7 separate regions of the Homo sapiens genome follow, and regions 1, 2, 3, 4, 5 and 6 are each linked to region 7. The links are contacts of gene promoters, found by promoter capture Hi-C in blood cells and fetal thymus (Javierre and others, 2016). All regions are on one chromosome and are shown on one strand. The core of a region is centred on a gene start or on the middle of the fragment in contact, and the rest is flanking DNA. Distances in the headings are between cores, read along the strand shown.

Region 1 (3,906 bases), core at 1,107-3,606, 1.9 Mb after region 7:
AAGAGGCCACTGCTGAAACTCTCTTGACCCTATTGGTTTTTTATAGTTTACAGAAAATTAGTTGTGTTTTGTCTGTTTGTTTTCATTTTTGTTTTTTTGGTTTTTTTTTTTTTTGTAGAGATGGGGTCTTGCTATGTTGCCCAGACTGGTTTTGAATTCCTGGGCTCAAATTATCCTCCTGCCTTGGCCTCCCAGAATGCTGGGATTGCAGGTGTGAGCTATTGAGCCCAACCAGGAAATTAGTTTTTATATGCCTAGAGTACTTATTGCAACACCAAAATAAAGGGTACATTGTGTATGGACTTTGATTCCCTTTCTTTAAGTAACCTTAGAAGGCATCAACGTAGAAAGAAAGAGAAGTTTCTGAAAAAGTTTTCAGTTTAGGGTTTATTGCTAAAGGAACTCGAACCAAAGTGCTGGACTGAAGCTCCTGGGTTATTCTGACTCAAAGCATCTTTGGGGCCTATAAGCAACATTGTTAACTGCTGATATTCATGGATGGCTTAGTAAAGTAATCTCACAGTATTGGCACCCAGACAAAGATGAAGGAAAGCCCTTCAATACAGTTACAACATGACTTCATGGTATTTCTAGAACTATCAAGTCCGATTTGGTATGCTTTTAAAGCTTGGGAAATATTTTCAATAGTCAAGTTAAAGTACACTTGATGAAAATGTTTACACTAAACCTAACTGAATCTTTTTGTCTGACTTCTGGTTTATAGAAAACACAGGGAAGAGAGCACCAAATAAAATGACGCCACCGATGACACTGCCATACAAATCCAGAATGTGGGCATTTCGTGAGACATTGTCCTGGCCTCTTCTAACGTCATAATCAAAAGGGGCTAAGAACATGAAACAGCCAAATGCAATCTGTGAATCTTGGTTCTTTCTATGTTTTTAAAAATTTGAGCTATAAAATCATTTCTGAGACAACTGGGAAAATGTTGGTATATACTGGATATGAGATGATATTAGGAAATTGAGGTTAATTTTTAAAATTGTGATTATGCTACTGTGGTCACAGAGGAGACTGTTCTTTTTCCTAGAAAACGCATGCTGAAGCAGTGAAGTGTCGTAACAACTGCAACTCACTTTCTAATGATTCAAAAAACACATGGATAGTTGGCCAGGGGCAGTGGCTCATGCCTGTAATCCCAGCACTTTGGGAGGCCAAAGTGGGCAGATCTCTTGAGGTCAGGAGTTCAAGGCCAGCCTGGCCAACATGGTGAAACCCCACCTCTACTAAAAATACAAAAATTAGCTGGGTGTGGTGGCACACACCTGTAATCCCAGCTACTCAGGAGGCCGAGGCAGGAGAATCACTTGAACTTGGGAGGTAGAGGTTGCAGTAAGCTGAGATCGTGCCACTGCACTCCAGCCTGGGTGACTGAGTAAGACTTCATCTCAAAACAAAACAAAACAAAAAACACACAGATAGATTAGACAGATACAGAAGTAAATACGACAAAATGTGGAATATTGAATACTACTGTGGGTATGTGAATGTTCACTGCAGTAATTTTTCAGCTCTTCTTTATGTTTCAATTTTTTATACTAAAATATTGGGCAGAAAATTAACATTCAAGTTACTTTTGGGTAGTCAGTCTAAGCTACAAACTTCTTGCTAGGTAGACAAGTCCAGGTTTGTTCTCTGGCCTCTTGAAGAATTTTTTTGCTGATATACAAAGGAACGCCAGGAAAAGAAATTTAACTTGAGCAAGAGAAGGGAGGCTCATAAGAGAGTTCCAACACTTAGAACTGAACCTCAGCATGGAAAAGACAATTTGGAGCGTGGAAATGTGGGGTGCTACTCACCTTACTCAACTTGTCCTTTGAGACTGGGTGGAAGGAGACTCTGAGTCATGTCATTAAAATCTACAGAAGACTCAGCACCCACCATTGCCAGAAACAAGGGAGGAAGGCCCACATGGTGACTCACATCTGTAATCCCTGTAATCCCAGCACTTTGGGAGGCAGAAGCAGGTGGACAGCTTGAGGCCAGGAGTTCAAGACCAGCCTGGGCAACATAGTGAGATCCCTATCTCTACAAATACTGTTTTTTTAAAAAAAATAGTCAGGTGTGGTGATATGCAATTGTAGTCCCAGTTACTTGAGATACTGAGGTGGAAAGACAGCTTGAGCCCAGGAGATCAAGGCTGCAGTGAGCTATGACTGTGCCACTGCATTCCAGCCTGGGCAACAGAGTGAGACCCTGTCTGTGAAAAAAAAAAAAAAAAAAAAAAAAAAAGCTTTGGCTGGTTGCAGTGGCTCATGCCTTGCCTATAATCCCAGTGCTTTGGGAGGCCAAGCAAGGCAGGAATGCTGGAGTTCGAGACCAGACTGGTCTACATGGCAAGACCTTAGTGTAGAGGTTAGGCTACGTCTCTGCAATCCTGCACAGGACCTACAGTAACACAGTCTTGTGACTGCTGTTGGGGTCCTTTTATATAAGTTAAGCTTTTGTGTTAATTTTACTTCAATTTATCACAAACTTCTACCCTGAAAAAAATATATCTGGGCAAGTGCCACTTGTCAATAAGAATGGATAAAAAAAGTTTTTAAATTAAAGCGTGATCTTGATTCTTTAAGAAACCTGTTGCACCTTCAAGCAATCTGGTGTGCATTCTTTCTGCCCTGCTCCCTTTCCTACTCCTACTTGTCTGACCTAGCCATCCTTTCAAGGTTCCCACCCTATTTCTGCTCTCTCCAGCTTTCTATCCTGGCCTATAATCTCATCTCCTGCACCCCTCCTCCCCAATCTATTCAGCCCACCACATTCAAAGCAATCTTTCTCATGTGTAATACCAACCATGTGTCCTCTCTCCCCCCTCCCCATTTTTTTTTAGCTTTATTGAGGTATAATTGGCATAAAAGAAACTGCACATAATTAGGTGACTGACTTCTTTCACTTAGCATAATGTCTTCCAGGTTTATTCATGTTGTCACAGACTGTAGGCTTTCCTTCTTTTTTTTAAGGCTGGATAATATTCTATTACATGGATATACCAATTTTTCTTTATCTGTTAATTTTTCAACGGACATTTGAGTTGTTTCCATATGTTGGCTATTGTGAATAAACCTGCAGTGAACATGGGAGTGCAGCTATCCCTTCAAGATCCTGACTTCAATTGTTATGGATGTATACCCAGAGGTGAGATTTCTGGATCATATGGTAGTTTAATTGTTAATTTTTTGAAAAATTTTCATACTGTTTTTCATGATGGCTATACCATTTTACATTACTATCAGCAGTATACAAACCTCACTAATATTTATAAATATTTTTATAGTAGCCATCCTAATAGGTGCAAGATAATATCTGATTGTGGTTTTGATGTGCATTTCCCTGCCGATGGGTAAAGCTGAGTATCTTTTTGTATACCTGTTGTCCATCATTTGTAGGTGTTCTTTGGAGAGATGTCTATTCCAATCCTTTGTTCATTTTTTAACCAGGTTTTTTGTTTGCTTCTGTTTTGTTTTTGTTTTTGCTATTGAGTTTAGAATCTCTTTATGTATTTTGGAAATTAACCCGTTATCAGATATATGGTTTGCAAATATTTTCTTCCATCCTATAAGTTGGCTTTTTACGCTGTTGATAGTTTCCTTTGCTGTCCCACTTAAGCTTTTCCCTCATGTTTTCTTCTAGAAGTTGTATGGTTTCAGCTATTACATTCAAATCATTAATCTATTTTGAGTTAATTTTTGTGTTTCATATAAGAAAGCATACAATTTCATTATTTTGCACGTGGATATTCAGTTTTCCCAACACCATTTATTTAAGAGACTGACCTGTCCCCATTGTGTATTCTTGGCATCCTCATCAAGAATCCATTAGCTATGTATACCTGGGTTTATTTCTGGGCTTTTTATTCTTTTCTATTGATCCATATGCCTATTTTTA
Region 2 (4,338 bases), core at 129-2,628, 1.8 Mb after region 7:
ATCATTACCAACTAGGATTTATCCCAGTTATGCAAAGCTGGTTCAACATTCAAAAATCCATTCATATAATCTATCGCATCAACAGGCTAAAGAAGAAAAAAATTATGTGATCATATAAATAGGCGCAGGAAAAGTATTGGACAAAATCCAATACCCATTCATGATAAAAACTCTCACCAGACTATGAATGGGGGAAACTTGCTCACCCTGATAAAGAAAAGCACATCTATCTAAAAACCTACAATGAATATTATACGTAATGGTGAGAAACTCAAAGCTTCCTCGCAAAATCAGGAATCAGATGTCCCCCTCATCATTCCTTTTCAGTGTTATACTAGAAGTCCTAGGTAATGAAATCAGGCAAGAAAAGGAAATAAAAGGTATACAATTAGGAAGGAAAAAGTAAAATTGTCTTTATTTGCAGATGTCTACTAGATAATCCAAAAGAGTCCACTGAAGAACTCTTGGAACTAATAAGCAATTATAACAAGGTTGCAGGATACAACACAGAAAAACTTAATTGCTTTCCTGTACCAGCAATGAACAGATGGAATCTGAAATTAAGAACACATTACCACTAACATTACCATGCCAGAAATGAAATACTTAGATATAAATCTAACAAAATATGTACAAGATCTCTATAAGGAAAGCTACAAAACTCAAAACTGATGAAAGGTATCAAAGAAGAACTAAATAAATTGAGATAGTCCATATTCATAGACAGGAAGACTCCATATTGTCAAAATGTCAGTCCTTCCCAACTTGATCCATAGATTCATTGAAATCCCAATCAAAATCTCAGGGAGTTATTTTGTGGAGATCAACAAACTGATTCTAAAGTTTATATGGAGAGGCAAGAGACCCAGATTTAGCCATATTGGTATTGAGAGGGAAGAACAAAGTGAGAGGGCTGACAGTCTACCTGACTTCAAGACTTACTATAAAACTACAGTAAGCAAGACAGTGTGGTATTGATAAAAGAATAGACAAATAGATCAATGAAACAGAACATGGAACCAGAAATAAGCCCAAATAAATTCAGACAACTGATTTTTGACAGAGGAGCAAAGGCAATACAATGGAGCAGAGATAGTCTTTTCAACATGTGGTACTGGAACCATTGGATATCCCCATGCAAACAAATCCATCCAGATTCAGACCTTAAACCCTTAACAAAAATTAACTCAAAATGGGTCACAGACTACCTGTGGAACACAAATTATAAAGTGCTTAGAACATAATACAGGAGAAAAACCTAGATGACCTTGGGTATGGTGATGACTTTTTAGGTACAACACCAGAGACACAGTTCATGACAGAAATAATTAATAAGCCGGACTTCATTAAAATTAAAAACTTCTGTTCTGCAGAAGATAATTTCAAGAAAATAAGAAGATAAGCTACAGACTGGAAGAAAATATTTGCAAAAGACACATATGATAAAGAACTGTTACCAAAAATATACAAAGGACACTTAAAACTCAACAATAAGAAAACAAACTACTCGATTAAACAATGGGCCAAAGACCTTAACAGATACTTGACCGAAGAAGATACACAGATGTCAGTTAAGCATATGAAAAGATGCTCCACAAGATGCCATCAGGGAAATGCAGATTAAAAAACAATGAGATATCACTACATACCTATTAGAACGGCCAAATTCCACAGCTCTGACAACATCAAATGCTAGTGAGGATGTGGAACAACAGGGACTCTCATTCATTATTGGTGACAATGCAAAATAGTACAGCCACTTTGGAAGACAGTTTGGGCATTCCTTTAAAAACTAAACATACCCTTACCATAATATCCAGCAGTTGTGCTCTTTGATGTTTATCCAAAGGAGCTGCAAACTTATGTCCACACAAAAACCTGCAGCTTCATTCATAATTGCCAACACTTGGAAGCAACCAAGATGCCCTTCAATAGGTGAATGGATAAATGAACTGTGGGACATTCATACAGTGGAACGTTATTTAGCTCTAAAAATAAATGAGCTATCAAGCTATGAAAAGATATGCAGGAAACTTAAACGCATATTGCTAAGTGAAAGAAGCCAATTTGAAAGCCTTTATATTATATGATTCCAAGTATGTGACATTCTGGAAAAGGATAAACTATGGAGATAGCAAAAAGATCAGTTAATACTAGGGATTTGGGGGAGAGAGAGATGAATAGAGCACAGAGGATTTTTAGGGCAATGAAACTATTCTATCTGATATTATAACAGTAGAAACTTGTCATTATACACCTATCAAAACCCATATACAACACCAAGAGTGAATCTTAATGTAAACTGTGGATTTTGAGTGATGATGTGTCAATACCATTTCAACAGTAGTAACAAATGTACCATCCTGGTGGGGAATGTTGGTAGTGGGGGAGTCTGTGCATGTGTGGGGTCAGAGGGTATATAGGAACTGTCTGTACTTTCTGCTTCACTTTACTGTGAACCTAAAACTGTTCCAAAAATAAAGCTTATTCATATGAAAAACCGTAAACGAAAACGAAATACACACACACACACAGGATGAACACACCCACTTGTGCGATGTCCTCTTAGTTTCTTTAGTATGCCCTCTATAGAGATTACCTGGCATGCTTTCAGTCTACCACTCACAGCCTTTACAGCCTGGAGATTATGGTAGTAAGAGGCTAACAACTATATAGCCATACCACCCTCCCATCAATTATTTAGTCAACAGGTATCTGTTGAGCATCTAATATGTGCCAGCGGTGCCTAGAGGCTGTGGGGTGGAAAATGAGTCAGCACTCTTTACAGCCCCTTGCCCACAAAGATGCGATCATCTGTGATATCATTTGGATGTTTTTTCCAATCTCATGTTGAAATGTGATTCCCAGTGTAGTAGGTGGGGCCAGGTGGGAAGTGATTGGATCATGGCGGCAAATCCCTCATGAATGGTTTAATACCATCCTCCTGGTGATAAGTGAGTTCTTGCTCAGTTAGTTCATGCACGATCTGGTTGTTTAAAAGAGTCTGGGGAGACCTACCCCTTCTCTCTCTCTTGCTCCCACTCTTGCCATGTGATGCGACTGCTCCCTTTTCCCTTCTGCCACAAATAGAAGCTTCCTGAGGTCCTCACCAGAATCAGATGCTGGCATCACTCTTCCTGCACAACCTACAGAACTGTGAGCCAGTTAAACCTCTTCTCTTTATAAATTACCCAGCCATTAAGCATTCCTCTATAGTAACACAAACAGACTAACACAGTCCACTTGGGAAATAGAATGTCACCATGCAGCTAGTAGTGAATATGATGATATTACATATTGCTACAGTTGACTGGGGACCAGGATAATGGTGAGCTACTAATTATTTGGCACAGGTGATAAGAGTATAAAGATTCGGTGCAGAAAGATTCATTTGAGCTGGAAAACCCTGAGAAAATTGGCAAGAGCAGGGGCAGCTTCACGTAGCTTCACAGCTGATCAGCTCTGTTGAGACCATCTTGAAATTCTTACTAATTTTTGAACAAAAATCCTCATATTTTTATTTTGCACTGGACTCCCCAAATTAAGACCCCTCCTTTCCAGGAAGGAAATGTTTGTATGGGTCATGTCTGATTTAGAAATCATAATTGATACCACTTATTGTGCATTTTTAAGTACCAGGAAGGATCTTAGGTGCTGAGACCTTATCTCCTCTAACCCACACAAAGGAGAGGAAAACCAAGTTTCAGATAGGTCACCTGATCTCACCCAGTTTGTGGGGCAGGCAAGATTCAAACCCAAGCTCTTTTCTTTTATTTCTGATTCATTCTTTCCAGATTTTTATATCAGTTATTTAAATTCATGGTTCATACTTTGAAATGATTTTTAATTAATTAATTAATTTTTTTTGAGGCAGAGTCTCACTCTGTGGCCCAGGCTAGAGTACAGTGGTGCAATCTCATGGCTCATTGCAGCCTCAACATCTTTGGCTCAAGCAATCTTCCTGCCTCAGCTCCCCAAGTAGCTAGGACTACGGGTGTGCACCACCACACCCAGCTAATTTTTACTTTTTTTGTGTGGAGAATGTGGCCTCACTATGTTTCTCAGGCTGGTCTCGAACTCCTGGCCTCAAGCAATCCTCTGACCTCAGCTTCCCAAAGTGCTGGGATTACAGTTGTGAGCTATCATGCCCAGCCTTGAAATGACTAAGATGTTTGAGAGGAATAAACCAGCTCACCTCTGTGAATAGTTTAGTTCAGCAGTTCCTAAACATTTTCAGTTCACAGCACCCTTAATGTCTTAGTAATCTTATTCACAGGGCCCTGAGGCCACATGAAATACCTAACAGTTCTATTTATGACCTTGTTGGGTCCAACTACC
Region 3 (3,985 bases), core at 1,264-3,763, 1.9 Mb after region 7:
CGACCATCATGACTAGACCCGGGGGCAGTGAACATATTGTGGGTGCCTCTGAGTAACTTGTGTTTTTTTCTTGTTAAGTAGGTTTTTAAAATGCGTGTGTGTGTGCGTGTGTGCATGTGCACTGTGACACACAGAAAAGCACACAAAAAATAAATATACCTTATGAGATGTTTGTTGAAATATCTCATAAAGAACACGTGTAACATGATCATGTAGATTCATGAATAGAATATTTCCAGGAACCCCAGAGCTCCCTCCTTTTGAAAGATGGCTAAATGAGTTTTCTCATTGCTCCTGTAGAAGACGAGAATATGCCATCCCAAAATATGTCTCTTTAGCATAAGGATTATTTTGACCTGGTTATTTTGTGAAACTGCAGACACAGGAGAAACTCTGAAAATAAAAGTCGAAGTGACCCTTTTGTAAGGGGAAATTTACATTTGTAGAGAAAATCTCCATTTGCTTGGATGTCTCCTTTTCTGTACCAGGAAGAGAAAGAGGACTCTAAATCACCAGACTCTTATCAATGAAGAGGCAGCCGCTGAAATCTGCATAGCAAACCTGACTCTTGGGTACCCTGCTTTTCCTAGGCACTTGGCCATGACTGGCCTTCCCCACACCCTTCTTTCTCTGTTTTTAGCTTAAGATGGTATTTAAGACCAAATACTAAGACATCTCTTTGAGATTTACTCATTTTTCCCTAGGTATCTCCCATGTATATTTGATGTATTTATGTTGATACAGTCAGTGCTGCATAACTAGATTTCAGACAATACCATATTGCCTAGGGTGAAGTAGGCTGTACCATCTAGACTTGCGTAAGTCCACTCTATGATGTTCATGCAAGGAGGAAATCACCTAATGATGCATTTCTCAGCATGTAACCTTATTGTTGCATGACACGTGGCTGTATAGTCGTTTGTTTTTCTCTGGTTAGTCTATCTTTTGTTACAATGGATCCCAGCTAAGAACTATTTAGAGCTAAGTTATTTTCCTCCCCGACCCTGCTGTAACAAATTAGCATGAATTTAGTAGCTTAACACACTAATTTATCTCATAGTTCTGGAGTCAGGAGGCTGAAATAGTATCCATGGGTCTACAATCAAGGTGCGGGCAGGGCTGTGTTCCTTCTTGGGGCCCTAGGGAATAAGCTTTTCCAGCTTCCACACTCCACACACATTCCTTGGGTCATGGCCCCATCTCTGTCTTTAGAGCCAGCGATGGTCAGTCAAGTCTTTCTCACAAGGCATCACTCTGACATGACTTCAGTTGTCACATCTCTGGTTCTGACTCTCCTGCCTCCCTATTTCTCTTCTAAGGATTCTTGAGATTACACTAGGCCCTTGGGATAGTCCAGGATAATCTCTCCATTTCACAGTTTTCAACCTTAATCACATCTGCAAAGTCCCTTTTGCCATATAAGGTGCTGGCCTGAAAGGAAGAAGCTGATGCAAAATTACGTGGAAAGTCCACTTGGGGCCAAGCTTGAGGGCCTGGATTCAAGTAGCCCTGAATATACACTCAGAACAGCCACAGTTACTAGTGGATTTTTTAATGCAAAAAAGTGGGGCAGGAAGTGGGCTGATACAAAGTTGTTTGTTAGGAATTCTCATTGGTTTACAGGAATAACATTGATTAGTGATTGGCTATCCATTGTTAAGCTTTAGGATGTGTGTTATAGTGTCTGGTGTGGCATTATTGGGTTAATTTATGGCTACTTGTGGCAATAGCAAGCAGTTTCATGAGATGAACATGGGGGGAAGCTCATGGGGGGAAGCAAGACACAATTGCTGCCTCATTTTAAGGTCTCTCTGAGCCTGATAATTAAAAGGACTTGCATTACTCAGATAAAAGCTCTTTCCTCAAAAGTAACATGTTCATAGATTTTGGGGATTGGTGTGTGGACATCTTTTAGGGAAGGCATTAGACTGTCTGCTACCGTGACACTATCCTGACTTATCGCACTATGATTTATGTTATGTTGCCTGAAATTATACAACATGCACTTTTTTTGTATCTCACTTTTTTCTCGATACTGTGTGAGAGTCAGCATATTGTTTCATGTATCTCTAGCTGATGTATTCCTAATTGTCTAATGTTTTACTGTATGAATACACCACAATTTATGTATACACTCTAAGTGGATGGGCATTTGGATTGTTCCCAGTTTGGGGCTCTTACATAAGATGCTGCTCTGTGTCTGCTTGGGCCTGTGTCTTGGCGTTCCTAGAAGTGGCATTGCTGGGTAAGAGAATATACCACAATTGATGTGAGCACACATCCTAGTTTGCTTGGAACAATCCCAATTTATGCCTGTTGTCCTATCTGGTAAAAGCCTACATTCACTCTCAAAATATGGTCACCCTAGGCATAGTGATACTTATTTCCAACTCCAGTAATGTAGCCAGACAGTTTCCAAAGTGAGAGTAACTGGCCAGGTGCAGTGGCTCACACCTGTAATCCCAGCATTTTGGGAGGCCGAGGCGGGCAGATCACTTGAGGTCAGGAGTTTGAGACTAGCTGACCAACATGGTGAAACATTAGCTGGGCATGGTGGTGCATGCCTGTAATCCCAGCACTTTGGCAGGCTGGAGTGGCAGATCATTTGAGGTCAAGAGTTTGAGACCAGTCTGGCCAACATGGTGAAACTCCGTCTCTGCTAAAAATACAAAAATAGCCGGGCATGTTGGTGATGCGCACCTGTAATCCCAGCTACTTGGGAGGCTGAGGCAGGAGAATCGCTTGAACCCAGGAGACAGAGGTTGCAGTGAGCTAAGATCACGCCACTGCACTCCAGCCTAGATGACAGAGTGAGACTCCATCGCCCCCAAAACACAAAAAACAAAGTGGCAGTAACTTGTGCTCCAGCAACAGTGCGCTCCACATCCTCACCAAACACTTGTGATTGGCCGTCTTTCTCGTTGTAGTTTAATTTGCATTTCCCAATTACTACTAACAAGATTGAGAAACTTTTCATAAATTTATTGCCCATTTAGGACAGTACATTTTTTGAGAAATCTCTGGATCACTTGCTCATTTTTCAATAGAGTCGTCTATCTTTTCTTATGGATTCGTTAGGGATGCTTTTGATATTCTAGATCTGAGTATTTTGTTGATTACATGAATTGCAAATATCTTCTCTCTCTCTGTGGCTTGCCTTCTCACTCTCTTAATGGTGCCTTTTAAGGAATGGACATTCTTAATTTGAATGTGATTTGAATGATTTATCTTTTTATTTATGATTAGCCCTTTTTGTGTCCTATTTAAGAAATCTTTCTCTACACTCAAGACTGTGAAAATATTTTCCTTTATTACCTCCTTGAAAATATGTTGTTTTGCCTTTTATATTTAGGTCTACAATCTACCTAAGCTTGATTTTTTTATGTGAGAAGGTCAACTTTAATTCTGTTTTCAAAAGGGTAAATAATACAATTGACCCAACACTATTTATATAAAATAATATCGTTTTCTTCCCCATTGTTTGATGTACCACCTTTTCAAAAATCAAGGGTTAATATATGCACTGGCCTGTTTCTAGGCTATCTGTTCCATTTGTCATGAGTCTATTTGTTTATCCTTGGGAACAATATCATGCCATCAACTGAACTATTACAGTTTTATAATAAATCATGATAGGTGGAAGAGGAAACTCTCCCCTCATTATTCTTCTTAAAGCGTATCTTAAGTATTCTTAGTTCTTTGCATTTCCACTTAAATTTCAGAATTGTATTAATAATGTCCTTTAAAAAACTCATTGGGATTTTTATTGAGATTGCATAGATCAGTTGTTACCCACCTTCTTGGTCTCCCAATGCAATAGAAATTGACATGAGATCAGAGAGTTTTCCCAGACAAGGCTTCACTGGAGCTTATGCTGGTGCATAAGGGAGGCAGCACCAGAGAGAGAGAGAGAGAGAGAGAGAGAGAGAGAGAGAGAGAGAGAGCGCTATCTGGCTGACTCTCTGAAAAGAGCCAGTAGGGCTTT
Region 4 (4,002 bases), core at 1,328-3,827, 1.8 Mb after region 7:
CAGCTACTCAGAAGGCTGAGGCAGGAGAATTGCTTGAACCCAGAAGGCGGAGGTTGCAGTGAGCCTAAAAACTGTCTCACTCCCACCTGGGCAACAAGAGTGAAACCCCATCTCAAAAAACAAACAAACAAAAAAAAAAAAACAACTTACTCTGAATTCCCCAATTACATTGTTCATCTCTCCATTTCATAAGGCTTGTAGTTTCCAGGAGCACAATTGTAACGGTAAAAAAATGTTCAAACCCAACTGTGTTGGACTCAGAATGCTTGCAATCACTCTGTCACCTGTAATCAAGGTGCTGTGATAAGATGCATTTGTATTGGCTGTTCAGTGTTTCCTACATGACTGACATAAGTTTGTATGGTGAGCCAGGCCATGAACTCTTGGCACTAGGGAGTAATTCCTTAAACACTGGCAAAATTCGTTGCAAGATAAATCCTAAGTGCATGTATTTTACACCATAAATTTGAGGTAGCAGGAAAACAAGCTACTCTTCATTTTGAAGTATTTATTCATTCTCTGATCTTTTTTTTTTTTTCTTGAGGTGGAGTTTCGCTCTTGTCCCCCAGGCTGGAGTGCAATGGCATGATCTTGGTTCACTGCAGCCTCCACCTCCTGGATTCATGCGATTCTCCTACCTCAGCCTTCCGAGTAGCTGGGATTACAGGTGCCCACCAGCAGGCCCAGCTAATTTTTGCATTTTTAGTAGAGACAGGGTTTCACCATGTTGGCTGGGCTAGTCTGGAACTCCTGATCTCAGGTGATCCACCCGCCTCGGCCTCCCAAAATGCTGGGATTATAGGCGTGAGTCACTGTGCCCGGCCTTCTCTGACTATTTTTAAATGCTAATTTTTAGTGTTGGGAAGAAAAACTAGGAAAAGGAGTGCTTTATCATAAGCTCATCAAGAAAAAGGGTTATGATAAAATTATTTTGGTTTTGGTTCTTTATAAAATGTTTCTGAAAAATTGAAATAATAAATACAATGTATCACGACAGCACGAAAGTCAGATGTTAATTTTTCCATATTTTGTTATTCAACAGAAAATCATTAATGATATGCAAAAACTAGGAGGAAGTGTTTAAAAAATAATGGGAAACTATTAATTCTCACTTTCCATAGCTCCTTTCAGCTTCTGAAACTAAGAACATTAATTTTCACTCAAGCCTGTCCAAGTCCTAAGAAAATCGTAACCAATCCTAAGCCCATATCAATAGGCTCTTCACCAGTTGGTTAAATCTGAATCAGTCTGTAGCCAAGAGTCTGTTGTGTGTATCCCAAGCAGGGCCCAGACAGAGGAAGAGAGAAATCCTGAGTCCATGCACCTGCCAAGTTTCAGTTTTCTTCTGTTCCAGTCTTTCTGGCATCCATTTCAGGTGCCGCTGACCTAGGGGGAAGGGCTACTGTAACCCACTTGAGAGGATGGTCAGCCATCACTCAAATTAACACACTTAGAAGGGCCCAGGAGAATCAGGTTTGTCTGGCGTTCAGCATAACTGTTAGAAAGTGCTAAGAAGCAGAGGGGTGTTTTTTGGTGTTCCTGCAGGCCTGGGAGAGTGGGCTCTTTGCCCTCTGGGGTGAGCTTTTCTCTGCTCTCACCTACACTGACAGATCTGCCATTTCTTGTACTACATCTGCCCTCATTGTCTTCCAGTCTCAAAGGATTGAGTGTCCTTCCCCTGTTGGAAGCTGGCCTACTCAGACTACCATGGTGGCACCAAGCTTTTACACTAAGGACGTTGTGAAAAATGAGAATTTCTGGGCCTTTCCCCCTTTGTGTTCTGATGCTGGGTGTTGCCCAGGGATTTTTGTCTTTAGCCCCCCCAGGAGAACTTCCCATAGGATTTGGTGGGCCTTCCTTGAGAAATACTCCCTGCTCCATGGAGAGTAACCATCCTCTCCATATTCATTTATTTTTATTGAGTCATTCCCTACTCTGTAAGTATGCTCACTTCCCCACTGAAAACAGAATCCTCTCTCAACACCTCTTCTCTGCATTCCTTTATAGTTGACTTCTCCCGAAGAAACAAACCCCATGCTTGTTGCCTGTTTCCCCACCTTTCTCCTCAGTTCTCTGCAGTCCAGTGTTTGTCCCCAGTACTCCACATTTACTCTTATTATCCTCCAAACAAACAAAACTCACCAGTCAGCTCCAATCCAGACCCTCCAACAAAGCCTGCAGAGCCCCGTTCCTGCCCCCTGGTCACGTGCAGCCCTGTCCTGTTCCTTGCTGTCTGCTGCCTTAGGGTCCCGGCTTCCGTATAGCTTCCTGATGTGCAGAGCCCTTTTCTGCCTCAGGCCTTTGCACTGCAGCTGTCTGGAGCTTATGCCCCCCACCGCAGGCTTCCTCCTCACAAGGGACTATGTCATGTTCTTGGTGTGACAGCATCCATATCAGAAAGAGGCCTTGCCTGTGAATGTGATTTAAAGCAGCTATCATTCTCTCTCTTATAGCTCCTGTTATTTTCCTTCAGAGTGCATTTCCTAATTTATATATGTTTTAACAAATTTATTGATACTTCCCCTCACTAGATTCTGAGTTTTGAAAGGCTAGTGGCCTTACTCGTGTAGTTCATCACTGTACCAAACCCAGTTCCTGAAACATGGTAGATGCTTTACTTGGAGACATAGTGAACCAATGATGCTGTTTTGATGGAGGCCAACTAATGACTCCCTAATTTCCACCTTCTCCACCTGAATGCAGAGCTGCCTGGGTGAGAGACCATGGCAAGCGATGACTCTGCAGAAAATCTGTGACTTAATATTTGCCCTGAGTGTTCTCAGTTCTCTGACAAACAAAGCCAGACACCCGGCACTTCACATCACTGTGGCTGATCCCACTGGTAGAAAGGCCTTGGGGAATGTTGTGTTTTAATGATTTCACTGAAAATAAAACTAAAAGCCTAGTTTCTTCCTTTGTACAGAAAAATGGTACTGCTGATGTTAACCTTGTGATTACAGGATAATTTCAATAAATTGCTAGAGACTTTTTGTTTTTTTTTTTGTCTTTGCAGAGTGAATGAAATACAGAGAGAACTACATCCTCCACTTCCTGTGTAGCATTGAGGTATTCAGATCCCCCTTAGGAAAGAAGGTTTCAGGAGCTTTGCCTCTCAGCATCCCTGTACACACAGCCTGGTTCCTGAGCACAGTGCCTGTCGTGTTCCCATCTAAGCCTCATTTCCTTTCCTTCTTTAGGGACATGAATCTGCTAGCAATAAAAATATCTAACTGGGTAATAATGTATGCAGGGTACACTGTTAGTGTTCCTAACTGCTGTTAAATGGTGATGGGCGTTAACTGGCATTTTGAATACAGCCCTTACAAAGCCTTTTTTTTTTTTTTTTTCCCCACTAAAGCTGGTGCCTGCGCAGGTGTCTAAAAAACATGCACAACCCCACAATGGAAACTGCAACAAGTTCCTAGTCCCTTCAAGAAGCTTTCTCAGCACATGAGACACTCTGAATGAGAGTCTGGACATTTGGTTGTTTTATTATTTAAGAATGTCTTAGAATGTAATAGAAATGAAATATAAATAAGAAATATAATTATGGCAAAGAAAGAAAGTAAATGACCACTATTGCTAAATGGCAAGGCTAGAAAACCCATGAGAGTCCCTTGTCCAGCATTAGTTTAGTAGAGATGGATACAAAATAAATAAGAAAAATCACTATAATACAGTTGGTTTCCTATGTGCTTCCTGGGATGTGCTTTACACACATCAAGCCCCTGTGATGCTGAGCAGAAACAGGGGCTTCAGGTTCACACAGGTCAGCTCTTGAGTACGTCTTTGCTACTCCTTGCAATTTCCATTATCACTGCCAACTTATCTGGGTCCTTCATACAGTTCATGTGAATTATTGGTAGTGAATAGCTCTTAGTGCTAGGACTTAGTAGCTGGTCAAATGAGGAGGGGAAGGACAAAGAGGCTGTTCATAAATGTACTGAGCATCTACTAATCTGTATCAGGCCTTGTCCCAGATGCCAGGGTGGGACTGATGAA
Region 5 (3,808 bases), core at 343-2,842, 1.8 Mb after region 7:
ACTGAAAATCTTCTGCATGGCAAGGGAAACAAGAGTGTAAAGGCAACCTACAGAATAGGAGAAAATATTTGCAAACCATATACCTGACAAGCAGTTAATTTCCAAAATATCTAAGGAACTCCTAAGACTCAATAGCAAGAAAACAAATCATCTGGTTAAAATATGGGCAGAGGACTTAAATAGACATTTCTTAGTTTTGCCTCTCTCCGCAGAGAAAGACTTTCTAAAAAACAAAAAACTCAAAAAACAACAACAAAAAAACCCTCAGTGGGGTGAATCTGCTGAAGAAGCAGGGAGACCTGGCCAGAAGCTGCCTTGGGGTGACATAAGGGAGCTGTGATGCCCTGCTGGCCTGGGACAGCACATGTGTGCACTGTGACACGGGGAAACTTCAGGAGCAGGGCCTGGGAGATGGCACTCAGCACGGCGAGGGAGTTGTGCCTTAGGATGGCCTGGATAGGGCAGTTTGCCTGTGAATGGGGAGGGTGATGGGAGTCACTGGCTTGCTACAGGTTGCACGTTCTGCCTGTGAGGTCATGCAGGAGGGTGGAGAGCCATCCACGACATGCCAGTCAATGGGAAAAATACCGTCTCAGTAGTACTTTTGAATTGTTTGAGTACTTGCTTAAGGTGAGCAAGGACCTTAACCTTGACCAAACTTTAGTGAGGCTCCTTAGTGCCGTCCCCCCAACCCCGTTTTTTTTTTTTTTTATTTTACCTTATCCTTGGTCCTGTCTTTGGTTTGCCTAGCCCAGTGCTGACAAGAAACCCTGTTGTCTGTTTAACAAGAGTCCCTGTACCCTTGATGCCTAATCAAGTTCCTGGTGTGAATTTTCCATTTGTTCCTTCCCTCTGCTGATTATCCCCACCTGTCCCTGTTGTATGCAGTCGATGAGTTCAAGCTCTCTCCCATTGACAATAGACTTAAATGAAGTCTTCCTTTCTGTTTTAAAAAGTGTCAGAATAACTTCTCTTTTACATGGCCTAGGGCCTAACACTCTAGAAGCCCCATTAGTGTAATTCCTTTCTCCCTTCAACCGCATTTATCCATTTCCCCTCTGCCCCCTACCCTTCCTCACCTCCAGGTGCAGTTGAAAGCCATGCTCCATTAAGTGGAGAGAGATTTGACCAGAGCCTGAGTAGGGAATATCTCTGTGTGCCTTTTTTGTCCATCTTAGAGGCATCTGATTGTAACACAAGCTGGAAGGGTTTTATGGGGTGATCTCTTCTTCCTTGAACATGGTTCACTCTTCAATATCAAGAACTCTGTGCAATCTCTTGAAATAATTAAAATAGAGTGGATGGTTAGGTGATGTTGCTGCCTGCCAACCTTCTGAATGAGGACCTGGCGTTCAGAAACTAGCTCAAATGTGTCACTCTTGGTATTTTTTCTTTGAAATTCCCCAACATTGTTTGAGTCCACCCTTCACATTTAATGTATTAAGACCTTATACATTGTAAGACATAGCGAGTTATTGGATAAGAAATTGTGAACACATCACTTTGACTTGTAAGGATTCATGTCATACCCCAAATGGATGAGTTGACTCTCAGGGATTGTAATTAATGGGCTTCACCAACGATACCTGCTAATGGACAAAGGGTCATTCAGCACAGACAATAACTTTGTCCCAAGTATGTGTTTTATAAGGTGGTGGCTGAACTTTAAGTCAGAGGTAGGAATATCATGGACAAAAGAAAAATATTCTCTAATTTTCTATTCTGAAATCGATTTCCAGCATGAGAATGGCATACAGTGCATACAGCATTCCCCTGCCACTGAACGCTCATGCCCAGCTGCATTTAGGTTTTGAAGGAGGCCTACTTTGAGGTTCAGGATGTGTAACAGCCCTATGTTGGCGTTACTGTTAAAAAGTGAATCCAGCCCCAGCTTCCTGCGGATAGTTTGAGTTTATGCCTTTGTCTCAGCATTTTTATTGATAGTGCCTTGTTCACCCTCAAAGATAGTCAGTTTTGGCTGATTTTTAGATCATAGGGTTACCCTAGTTACAGCACGTTGATGAAGATGTTGTACAGAGTCCTTTTCATGAGGACTTTTCTCATTTTCTTAATCCTCAAGACCAAGGATGTTTGTACTACTTCTTATTAACAATTTTGTCATTATGTTGGAGACAAGGAGTGATTCATATAACAGATCAAATTTCTGTTTTTGCACTGAGTTTGTGGGAAACTCAGAACTATCTCTAGTAATTCTACAGGTCTACCGTCTATGCATTTTTGTTTGTTTGTTTGTTTCTGAGATGGAGTTTCGCTTTTGTTGCCCAGGCTGGAGTGCAATGGCACGATATCTGCTCACCACAACTTCCGCCTCCCGGGTTCAAGCGATTCTCCTGCCTCAGCCTCCTGAGTAGCTGGGATTACAGGCATGTGCCACCACACCCGGCTAATTTTGTATTTTTAGTAGAGATGGAGTTTCTCCATGTTGGTTAGCCTGGTCTCAAACTCCCGACCTCAGGTGATCCACCCGCCTCGGCCTCCCAAAGTGCTGGGATTACAGGCGTGAGCCACCACGCCCGGCCCCCTCTGTGCATTTTTATATGATCTCAGTCTATTTGCTCCAAATTCTTGACTTTTTGCCTATAGCATTGTTTTTAATTTTTCAGACTGCCTTGAATTGACTCTGGACAAGACAATTATAAAACAATTATAAAGGCTAAATTTAACATTCATAGGCAAAAATGAACCTTAGCCTAAGTCTTGTACATTATCTAAAAACAAATTCAAAATGGAGCATAGACATAAATCTATACAACATTTTTTAAAATAGGGGAAAATGTTTGTGATCTAAGGCTAGGCAAGAGTTCTTAGACTAGACACCAAAAGCAAGATCTATTTTTTAAAAAGTTTGTAAACTGGGCTTTATTAAGTTTGAAAATGTTTTCTTTTCTACGAAACACTTTGTGAAGAAAATGGAAATACAAGCTACAGACTTGAAAAAAACATTTTCAAACCACACATCTGACAAAGTACTCCTATCTAAAATATAGAAAGAACTCTGAACTCAACAGAAAACAACAAGAATCGAATATGAAAATGGGAAAGAGACAAACATTTCATCAGGGAGTATATTCAAATGGCAAATAGCCTATGAAAGGTGTTCAACATCATTAGCCATTAGGAAAATGCAAACTAAAACCACAGTGAAATATTGCCACACACTTAACAGAAGGGCTGTTAGAAAGAAGGAAAGTGCCGCATGCTGGTGAGGATGCCGGGATGCAGCGACCAGATCGCTTACGTTTTGCTGGTGGTGATGTGAAATAGCACAGCCTCTAAAGAAAACATTTGGGCAGTTTCTTCAAAAACCAAACCTGTAGCTACCATGACACTCAGCTGTTACACTCCTGAGCATTTAACCAGGTGAAATGAAAACATGTTCTATATAAAAACCTGTGCCCCAATGTTTACAGCAGCTTTATTTGTAGTAGTCAAACAAACTGAAAACAGCTCAGATGTCCTTCAACAGGTGAATGGTTCAACAAACTGGTACACCCCTGCCATGTAATGCTACTTCTGCAGTAAGAAAGAATAAACTATTGCTATGCTGAAAAGCTTAGCTGAATCTCCAGAAAAGTATGTGGACCAAGAAAGGCCAATCCCAAAAGGATACATATCATATAATGTTATATATGTATAATATTCTTGAAAAATTACAGAAATTGAGATGACATGAATGTTTGCCAGGAGTTAAGGAGAGGTATAGGTGAGAGGAAAGTGTTGGTTGCAGGTAAAGGTCACCATGATAGAACCTTGTGGTGATAGAAATGTTCTGTATCTTCGCTGTATT
Region 6 (4,156 bases), core at 1,488-3,987, 1.6 Mb after region 7:
GGCTGAATGAATGGCCATCTGTTCTATTGCAACAGGATAAATAACACATTCGGAGCAGGCCTAACTGGTGAACTCCTCAATTATCTCACAATAGCACTATCACGTGTCTTTCATTTTTCACAGCACAGTGTATTTTCATAAAATCTTTATTGGTAGACCACAACTTTAGCATTTCCCATTCAAGATACAACTACTGTGTCACTTGGATAGCTTGGTAGAGAGGAAATTGGCTATTTTCAGAGTAAAGAATTCAAGGAGGAAACAGATTATAAATGAAATGACAAAGGTGATGAGATCAAGCAATGCTGACGTTTGTAGCAAGGAGTAGAGGGCTGAGATGCCTGTATGATAAGAAATTATAATGGAACCAATCTTGTGCTTTATTTTTTATTAATTTGGAGCATTCTCTGATCTGATTTATTTTCTATGTGATATTTTGCTGCAGGTTAAAAGCTGAAACAACTTCAAGGAAACTTCAGGGAAAAGAGGTGAGCAGCCACTTTGGTACTTTTGAAATTCTTTGTTCTGTGGGCAATGATGTCAGAATGTCAAAGACTGTGAGTTCATTATTTCAGAGGCTTAAAGGAGATTATTCTTTTGGTAGATATATTTCCCCATGGGTGTCCCTACCTTGTTCAAGGATTCCTTATTATTGTTTCTTCTCTTTGTTTAAATCTCTTTTTGAGATGACCTAAACAACTGTGGAGAATCATTGATATATTTCCTTTTTTCACTGTTCATGTTGGGTGAAAATAATCTTGTAGTGAAATTCACATGTTCTAAATATTGTTTTTTTACATCTTTATCTGGCACATTCATAACATAGATGTTTCTATACATATTAGTACTGTAATCATACCATATATTATTCTGTTACCCCACTTACTCCTTAAACTTTTAGTTAATTAAAGAGTTTTTATAAAGTCCCCCAATAGATTTTTTTTTTTTGAGACATAGTCTCACTCTGTTGCCCAGGCTGGAGTGCAGTGGCGTGATTTTGGCTCACTGCAACCTCCCCATCCTGGGTTCAAGCAATTCTCCTGCCTCAGCCTGCCAAGTAGCTGGGATTACAGGTGCCTGCCACCACGCCCGACTAATTTTTGTATTTTCAGTAGTGACAGGGTTTCACCATCTTGGCCAGGCTGGTCTTGAACTCCTGACCTCGTGATCCACCCGCCTTGGCCTCTCAGAGTGCTAGGATTACAGGCTTGAGCCACTGCACCCGGCCAGATTTTAATCTAATTTTATTAGAACAATTCAGTCATATGTTTTTTCATGCTATGTATATGAGAGTTCCATTATTCAGATACTAAACAAATGTCTACTGTACATTTACTGTTCTCACTGATGATGCATTAGATAACCATGCACAAAATAAGCCTGGCTGTGGAAACGCTTATTTGTTGGGAGGGTGCTTGTTTGGATCGATGATGAGAATAATTGTCTGAGGATGCTGAGGGACTCATTCCAGATGTCAATCTGAGGTCCAGATGTGCGGCCCTCCAATAGGACAAATAAGACTCTCAGAGCCTGGCTCTATTTGGGGATCCCTCAGTGACAACATAGTACCCCTGTGAGCGTGCCTTTTCTATCTCTTCGAAGAGGGCAGTGGCATCCTGTCTTATGAGTCAGTGTGCACTTTAGTGTGCCTAGTGACCCAAGACTTGCTTTAATTGTAGATAGATACTTACATATAGGAAATATTTCTTAAGTAACAAATGAAAAACTTTAGAAGATTGAATTAAGGGTCAAGCAACTGTGATATGTCTGAAAATCTCATTAGTGTTGTGCTGAAAGAAGGAAATATGGCATGCCTCTATTAAATAATGACAGTGGAACCAAGTTTATTGCTTTGTTATTTTTACTGTGGAGTATTTTCTAAGATTATTTTTGCTTTTTTTTTCTTTCATGTTTTGCTGAGATAGAAGGCCTGGAATCTGATCCTCCACTTCAGAGAACAGGGGTGAGTAGCTAAGCCATTATCTTTTGAAATTCATATGTCATGTGCTCTTTGCTAGGTCTTTAGGTCGTTTTGTACATCTTTTCAGAAGCTTATTGGAGGACATTTTCATGATATGTCCTTTTCCTCATTGAGACCCTCACCATGTCACCTACACTATTGAATCCTTATCATTTCTCTTTTAATTTTAACTCTCTTTTGCTTTTATGGAAAAATGTAGAATTTAAGAGAATTTTTGGCAATTTCATATTGGATCAAAATGTATTGTAGTGAAATCCAGGTGTGCCAAAATATTAACAGATTTTCCCCATCTGTTTAATTATTGGGGTTTCAGAATAGAGACTCCATGGTTCATAATATCTTTGTGGTCATACTACATTATATTTCTGCTTCTAATTTAATTATTAAATATTGACTTGAATTAGTCTTTTCCTCATTGTTGCAACAAGGTAAGTTATATAGGAAATTTTCTTCTCTTGATGGCATGTCTGAGATAATCATAGATATAAGACACCTGGCTGGTTTCTAGAATGCATGTAATTTTTATTTCTTGATCTGTGTGTTGAGTACTTGCTGTGATTGCATCATGCAAATACATTGAGCTTTACAATTTTAGTGTATGCACTTTTCTACATGTATATTATTCTTCGATAGAAAGTAAAAAAAACTTATCGAACTAGTCAAAATATTGGTTAATACATAAAAAAAGTCTCAAGTAGATTGTGTATTACATGGTGCTTGTTGATTGATGCCCTCATAATAGATCAAGTGGGTTCTCTCTTTAGCACAGGGCTTTTTAGCAAATCATGTCATGAGTAGTTACTCAAGTATTTTTATTTTAACACATTTATATTTTTTCTATGTATATTCTTAAATTCTCTTATACTTTTTTCTCTGTTATAAAAACATGCTGAACAATCTCAAGTCTTAAGGATTGCAGTATTGTCCCCACATATTCATGTATTTTGGTACTCAATTCTTTATACTTTCTTTGACAGATCACTTGAACTGGCACATGTCTCTTGTTTTGCAGAGAGGGAATTAATGTGATACCTTCATGCTTTTCTATTCTATGTGCTACATAATTGAATATACAAGCAAATATAGTTGTTAAGATTTAGTGTGATTATTTCTACACCACATGCAAAGAAGTTTCTCATAGATCTTAATAGAGGCCCACATGCATTGTACAGTTTAGAATTTGGGGAAATATTGATGAAGTTGGGTAAAGTATAAAGCCAAAAGTCAGAACAGTGAACTCCTTGCTTAAGGATTTCCTTGGAGATTACTTAGTCAATACACAACTGATAAATTTAAGTGCTTTTCACCTTTTGAGTTCTCGACATACTAAAGCTAAAATGTGTTTCAACTTTTAATCCTGCTTCCCTGATTTTCCCTTTTTTAGTCTGAGATCAAAGAGTTTCAGCCATAAATTACTGCCAAGAGTAATCACTTCATTTTAAGAAAGCTTAACAATATAGAAGAATATAAAATTATTTATGACAGATGTATTTTTAACCTTTTCCCCATGCTTTCCAGAGGAAATATGTTTAATCATCTGCCCTATATTAGGGAAAAACTTTCTATGCTAATACAAGTATCTATCAATCCATTTATCTTTCTATATAAGATGTATTGATCATAACCAATTAACTTTACTGTAAATGAGCTTTAGATTTGACATTTTGGTAGTAATATATGTTGTACAATCTCCTGAGGTCCTATAGGTCTTGAGGTCTCTATGTCAAAAACTATAGATGTGCCAGTGTCCTCAGTGAATGTGAAGGACACCACATTTTCCTTAGCCATTTCTTGTTTTCAGAATAATGGTTATCAACATTTTGCTACTGCAAGATACCATACATTTATAATCGGAATATGCCAGTTTTTATGCACTCATGCCTCTGTTTCTGTAGAGCATTCCCAGAATGAGTAATGCTTGAAAATTAGGTCCATGTGATTTCTTTAATGAGTTATAGTCAAATCATGAAATATTCAGGTTACCATTATTTCAGTAATGTATTAGAATGTCAAGGTAAAGTTATCTACATTGTATATATACACACAACATAGATATAATTTATACAACATCTATATTTATACAACAGATATATATTTATGTATATATTTATACAACATAAAATATATTTTATTATTTAAACATAAAATATATTTTATTATTTAATATAGATTCTT
Region 7 (3,818 bases), core at 485-2,984:
CACCCTATTAGGGGAAATAGTTGTATCTGTATACACTGTAAAATAGAGAATTGTCTCATTCCCAACCATACTGCTTTGTTAAAATGATAAAGTACACTTTTCCAAAAATGATTGTATCACAAGAATCTTTAATGTTTACTTTAAAGTTGACTCACGGTGGGGTTGTATATGTGTTTAGTAAAGTGTGCCAAGTGCTCACACTGAGACCAGTCCAGTTCAAATTAGTGTACTCCACGAGGGTGTTTTCTGTGCCCAGCAAGGTCATGAAGGGCCTTGACTTTTCTTGGTTAGGCCGGCTTTGCTGGTGACTTCTTCCAAACTCTGCAGGAGCAGTCTACCCCAACACACATCATCAGTCCCATATAAAAGAATAAGATGGAAACTTTCTCAATGTATTTCATCAGTTTAGCACATCTCTGGTACAAAAATCCAAGAAAGGTAGCACAAAAGCGAAAGCACCAACCAAGCTTACATATAAACAAACATGCATACATCCTAAATACTACACAATAGTACCCAAATGAATACAACATTGCATTAAAGGTATAAAAGCACTGTACTGAAAACTTAAAAGTTACACGTGAATACTGCACTGTAAATCCTGAATACTATAATGACCCACCCCCACCCTTCCACAGCCCTGGTGAGGGTCAGAAACCATTCATCTGCCTCCAGACTTTGCTAGTCCTCAGAGACACTGCTGCGAGGGTAGTGGGCAGTGGGATTAGCCTCCCGCAGAGCTCTGGCCTCCTCCAGAGCTTCTCTGTATCGGGAGGGCCAGGCCTGGGGGTCTTTCTTAAAGACCCTGGCCAGGAACTCCATGATTTGCATCTTGGTGATTTCGCGGCTGGCCCGGGAGCCCCAAAAGAACTCGTATTCGGGCGGCTCCACGTATGGGACGCGCTGGTACTTCAGGTAATTCATTTGGACGAACTCCTCAGTGATGAGCTTCCGCACGTCCCCGAAGGTGGAGTGCTTCTTCCAGGGCCGCAGCCCCAGGATGCGCAGCACGTTCCAGACGGCGCTCTCTCTGGCGCCGCGGCCCTTCACGTAGATGAGGCTCAGGATCATGAGCAGGAGGCCTGTCATGGGCATGCGGTTGCTCAGCGCCACCCTGTCCAGCTCCTCGGGCTCCAGCGCTTTGACCAGCGCAAACTCCATGGTGTGCAGGCTGGTTAGCCTCAGGTGCAGCCCGAACACCCGGGCGAGGATGAGGCTGGTGCGCCGGAGGATGCTCCTGCACCACTTCTTGTAGCTGCCGATGACATCTTTCACCATGTCTGGAAACCAGATGATCATCTTCTTCTGGTCCTTGACCAGCACGTACCACATGAGCTCGTGCGCCTTCTGCACCAGCTGCGCCGGGGCTGGCGGTGCCGGGCCCGGCTGGGCCGCGCTCGGGGCCTGGTGGGCGCGGCCCTCCTCCGCAGCCTGCTGCAGGGCCTTCGGGTCGCCCTCGTCGTTCGGGGCCTGGGGAGGCGGCGCGGCCTGCGGAGCGGCCGTCGGGCCTAGAGGAGGGCTCTGCGGCTCTGCCAGGGTCGCGGACGGAGGAACCCCCTCCGAAACCCCAGGGCTGCTGTGCACCTCGGAGTTGGGGGCCTCGGCTGCAAAGTTAGGGTCGCTCAGATCCTTACTTTGTTCTGACATGTCTGCGCCGTCTGGCAAGGGCAGGGCCTCTGCGTCCAGGAGCTCTTCGAGCCTGCGCTCCCTCCGCGGATTCCTGGAGAGGAAGTGCGCGTTGCTGCGCGCGGCGCCTTCCGCAGCGACGGGCAGGGCGGGGCGGCGGCGGGACGCGGCACTGCGCCTGCGCGACCGCGGCCTTGGCCAGCGGCTGGGGGCGGGCGGGGCAGCGCGGGGCCCCGACGGGGAGGGTCCATGGCGAGGCTTCACCTGCTGGGAGAGCGATCCCGGGGTTTCCTGTTTGGGCTGAGAAGATCTAGGGCAGGAGAGAAGTGAGATGGATGCGTACTGGAGAAGGGGCCAGTTTAAGGGAAAGATACCTTAAGTTTTTGGGATGTTGGGGTCAAGTTTCTTGGGAAACGCTTACCTGGGTATATCCAGAATTAAGTTAAATATGAGAGTCCCAGAGAAAGGTCTGGGCGGCTTTGTAAACATGAGCTTTATGCGAACCAGTGAGAGGAACAGTCGGGCTTGTCCAAGAAAATGTGTAAACTGTAAAGTGGATGTCTGAGGTTGGAATCCTGAGAAATTCCAATAAAAAATGATCGACTCCCTACCAAATCAGATAGGCTATAAGAAAAGGGGAAATGCAGTGTGTCGTTAACGTAATTTCCTATCAACCCATGTGAACTATGAACTTTTTAAGTAGGCAGTGGACTTAGAGCATCATTAATGCTTTAACGGGCATAAATTTGGGTTTTACACTTCCTTTGGGTAACTTTGATTCCATTTTATTTTTTTCCATACTTAGTCCATAGCAGAAGGATTGCTATATCTTTTAGCACAAACTTGTATGATAATGTCTTTTCCCTCTGCCCAGCACCCTCATTCTTCAATTCACCTTCTCTCAGGACCCTCTCTGAAGCTACTGAGTCCTCCACGTTGGAAGCCACACCCAAGTCTTTCCTGAGATTTAAAAAAAAAATAGGTCCCATGGGTAATATCTGGTAGTGTCTCTGAGATGACCAAAGGGTAGCAGGGGAAACATAGGTAACCCTGTTTTCCAGGTATGGAAAACAGATTCCCAGTGGGCAAAGACAAAACTGTCACTCCTACAGGCTCTCCATGAAAAAAAGGGTCATTGCCTGAGCATCTGAAACCAGGGACCTTAATGCTGCTTCAGCATCCTTGGTCTGGGCTGATGTGGTCCTTCAGCTCTTCCCGGGTTTCTTCTCATCAGCAGCTTCTTAAATATGCTGTCTTGAATCTAGTTATTGCCACTCGAAGCCAAAAGCATATTTAAAAATTGTCTTGACATGTCTAGAGTCCTCACTGTGAGTATGTATCTTTTCCCACTTTATTTTTCCTCAAGCAGGTTGATGTTGAAAGGTTTTCTGTGCTTTCTCTCTTTGGGTTTGCACGCACATAACACTTTTGGCAGAGCCATTACCACACCAGTCCCTCCAACAGGACTCTTAAGCTTCCCACTTCACCAGGGTAATTCCTAGATATCAGTCTTAGTTGGAATTATTTCAACACTTTTCTCCTCCTCCTCACCCTCCTCCACCTCCTCCTTCTCCTCTCCATCTACTTCTCCTTTTTCTCCTTCTTCTATTTATAGATATCTACCATTTTCTTGGGAACATCTTACAGAAATATGCTAATTATATTCATTGTTTTTAAGAATGTCTCTTGAACAGACTTATTACCCCCATGCTTCATAAATATAATCCTCATTTATTGCATTTAAATCTCCATCAATATTATTCTTTATTTTGTTTGGGTATGTATTATTTTCTAACTATTTAAATAAAATATTTAGGCCAGGTGCGGTGGCTCACGCCTGTAATCCCAGCACTTTGGGAAGGTGAGGCGGGCAGATCACCTGAGGTCAGGAGGTCGAGACCAGCCTGGCCAACGTGGCAAAACCCCGTCTCTACTAAAAATACAAAAATTAGCCGGGTGTGGTGGTGGGCACCCTTAATCCCAACTGCTTGGCAGGCTGAGGCAGGAGACTCGCTTGAACCTGGGAGGTGGAGTTTGCAGTCAGCTGAGAGCATGCCACTGCACTCCAGCCTGGGCAACAGAGCGAGACTGTCTCAAACATTAAATAAATAAAGAAATAAAATATTTAGTTCATTTGATATATTTTTTAATAAGAAAAGTGTTTGAACCTACTATTTAAATCTCAACTTGGC

The links. Contacts are between HindIII fragments. The CHiCAGO score rates a contact against its expected background, and 5 or more counts as called.
Region 1: a contact is called between a fragment that was not itself captured here and the fragment with the promoter of NDN in region 7, in 2 of 17 cell types (M1 macrophages and M0 macrophages). The highest score is 7.5, in M1 macrophages.
Region 2: a contact is called between a fragment that was not itself captured here and the fragment with the promoter of NDN in region 7, in 3 of 17 cell types (naive CD8 T cells, M0 macrophages and M1 macrophages). The highest score is 7.5, in naive CD8 T cells.
Region 3: a fragment that was not itself captured here is called in contact with the fragment with the promoter of NDN in region 7 in 1 of 17 cell types (total B cells); the score reaches 6.2 in total B cells.
Region 4: a fragment that was not itself captured here is called in contact with the fragment with the promoter of NDN in region 7 in 1 of 17 cell types (total B cells); the score reaches 9.4 in total B cells.
Region 5: a contact is called between a fragment that was not itself captured here and the fragment with the promoter of NDN in region 7, in 1 of 17 cell types (M0 macrophages). The highest score is 5.9, in M0 macrophages.
Region 6: a contact is called between a fragment that was not itself captured here and the fragment with the promoter of NDN in region 7, in 1 of 17 cell types (M0 macrophages). The highest score is 6.2, in M0 macrophages.

The regions. Positions count from the first base shown.
Region 1 is chr15:25,599,030-25,602,935 of GRCh38, forward strand. No RefSeq gene overlaps it. Among named protein-coding and RNA genes, the nearest start is that of LINC02250, 22 kb to the left of the region's middle. The HindIII fragment of the contact is 208 bases long and covers 2,253-2,460 here.
Region 2 is chr15:25,496,461-25,500,798 of GRCh38, forward strand. The region is part of intron 4 of LINC02250 (long intergenic non-protein coding RNA 2250); the gene reads right to left. Among named protein-coding and RNA genes, the nearest start is that of UBE3A, 60 kb to the left of the region's middle. The HindIII fragment of the contact is 2,206 bases long and covers 276-2,481 here.
Region 3 is chr15:25,536,579-25,540,563 of GRCh38, forward strand. All of the region lies in intron 1 of LINC02250 (long intergenic non-protein coding RNA 2250), which reads right to left. Among named protein-coding and RNA genes, the nearest start is that of LINC02250, 40 kb to the right of the region's middle. The HindIII fragment of the contact is 1,709 bases long and covers 1,660-3,368 here.
Region 4 is chr15:25,475,755-25,479,756 of GRCh38, forward strand. All of the region lies in intron 4 of LINC02250 (long intergenic non-protein coding RNA 2250), which reads right to left. Among named protein-coding and RNA genes, the nearest start is that of UBE3A, 39 kb to the left of the region's middle. The HindIII fragment of the contact is 1,717 bases long and covers 1,720-3,436 here.
Region 5 is chr15:25,515,369-25,519,176 of GRCh38, forward strand. It overlaps LINC02250 (long intergenic non-protein coding RNA 2250), which reads right to left. Exons shown (of 5, transcript NR_187215.1): 2 at 1,080-1,277. Among named protein-coding and RNA genes, the nearest start is that of LINC02250, 62 kb to the right of the region's middle. The HindIII fragment of the contact is 3,957 bases long and covers 1-3,571 here.
Region 6 is chr15:25,276,922-25,281,077 of GRCh38, forward strand. SNHG14 (small nucleolar RNA host gene 14) reads left to right here. Exons shown (of 148, transcript NR_146177.1): 145 at 446-488; 146 at 1,926-1,963. SNORD109B (small nucleolar RNA, C/D box 109B) reads left to right here and starts at 1,422; the gene lies at 1,422-1,488. The HindIII fragment of the contact is 1,377 bases long and covers 2,050-3,426 here.
Region 7 is chr15:23,685,571-23,689,388 of GRCh38, forward strand. It overlaps NDN (necdin, MAGE family member), which reads right to left and starts at 1,735. Exons shown (of 1, transcript NM_002487.3): 1 at 1-1,735. The coding sequence starts at 1,647. The coding sequence ends at 682. The HindIII fragment of the contact is 2,633 bases long and covers 466-3,098 here.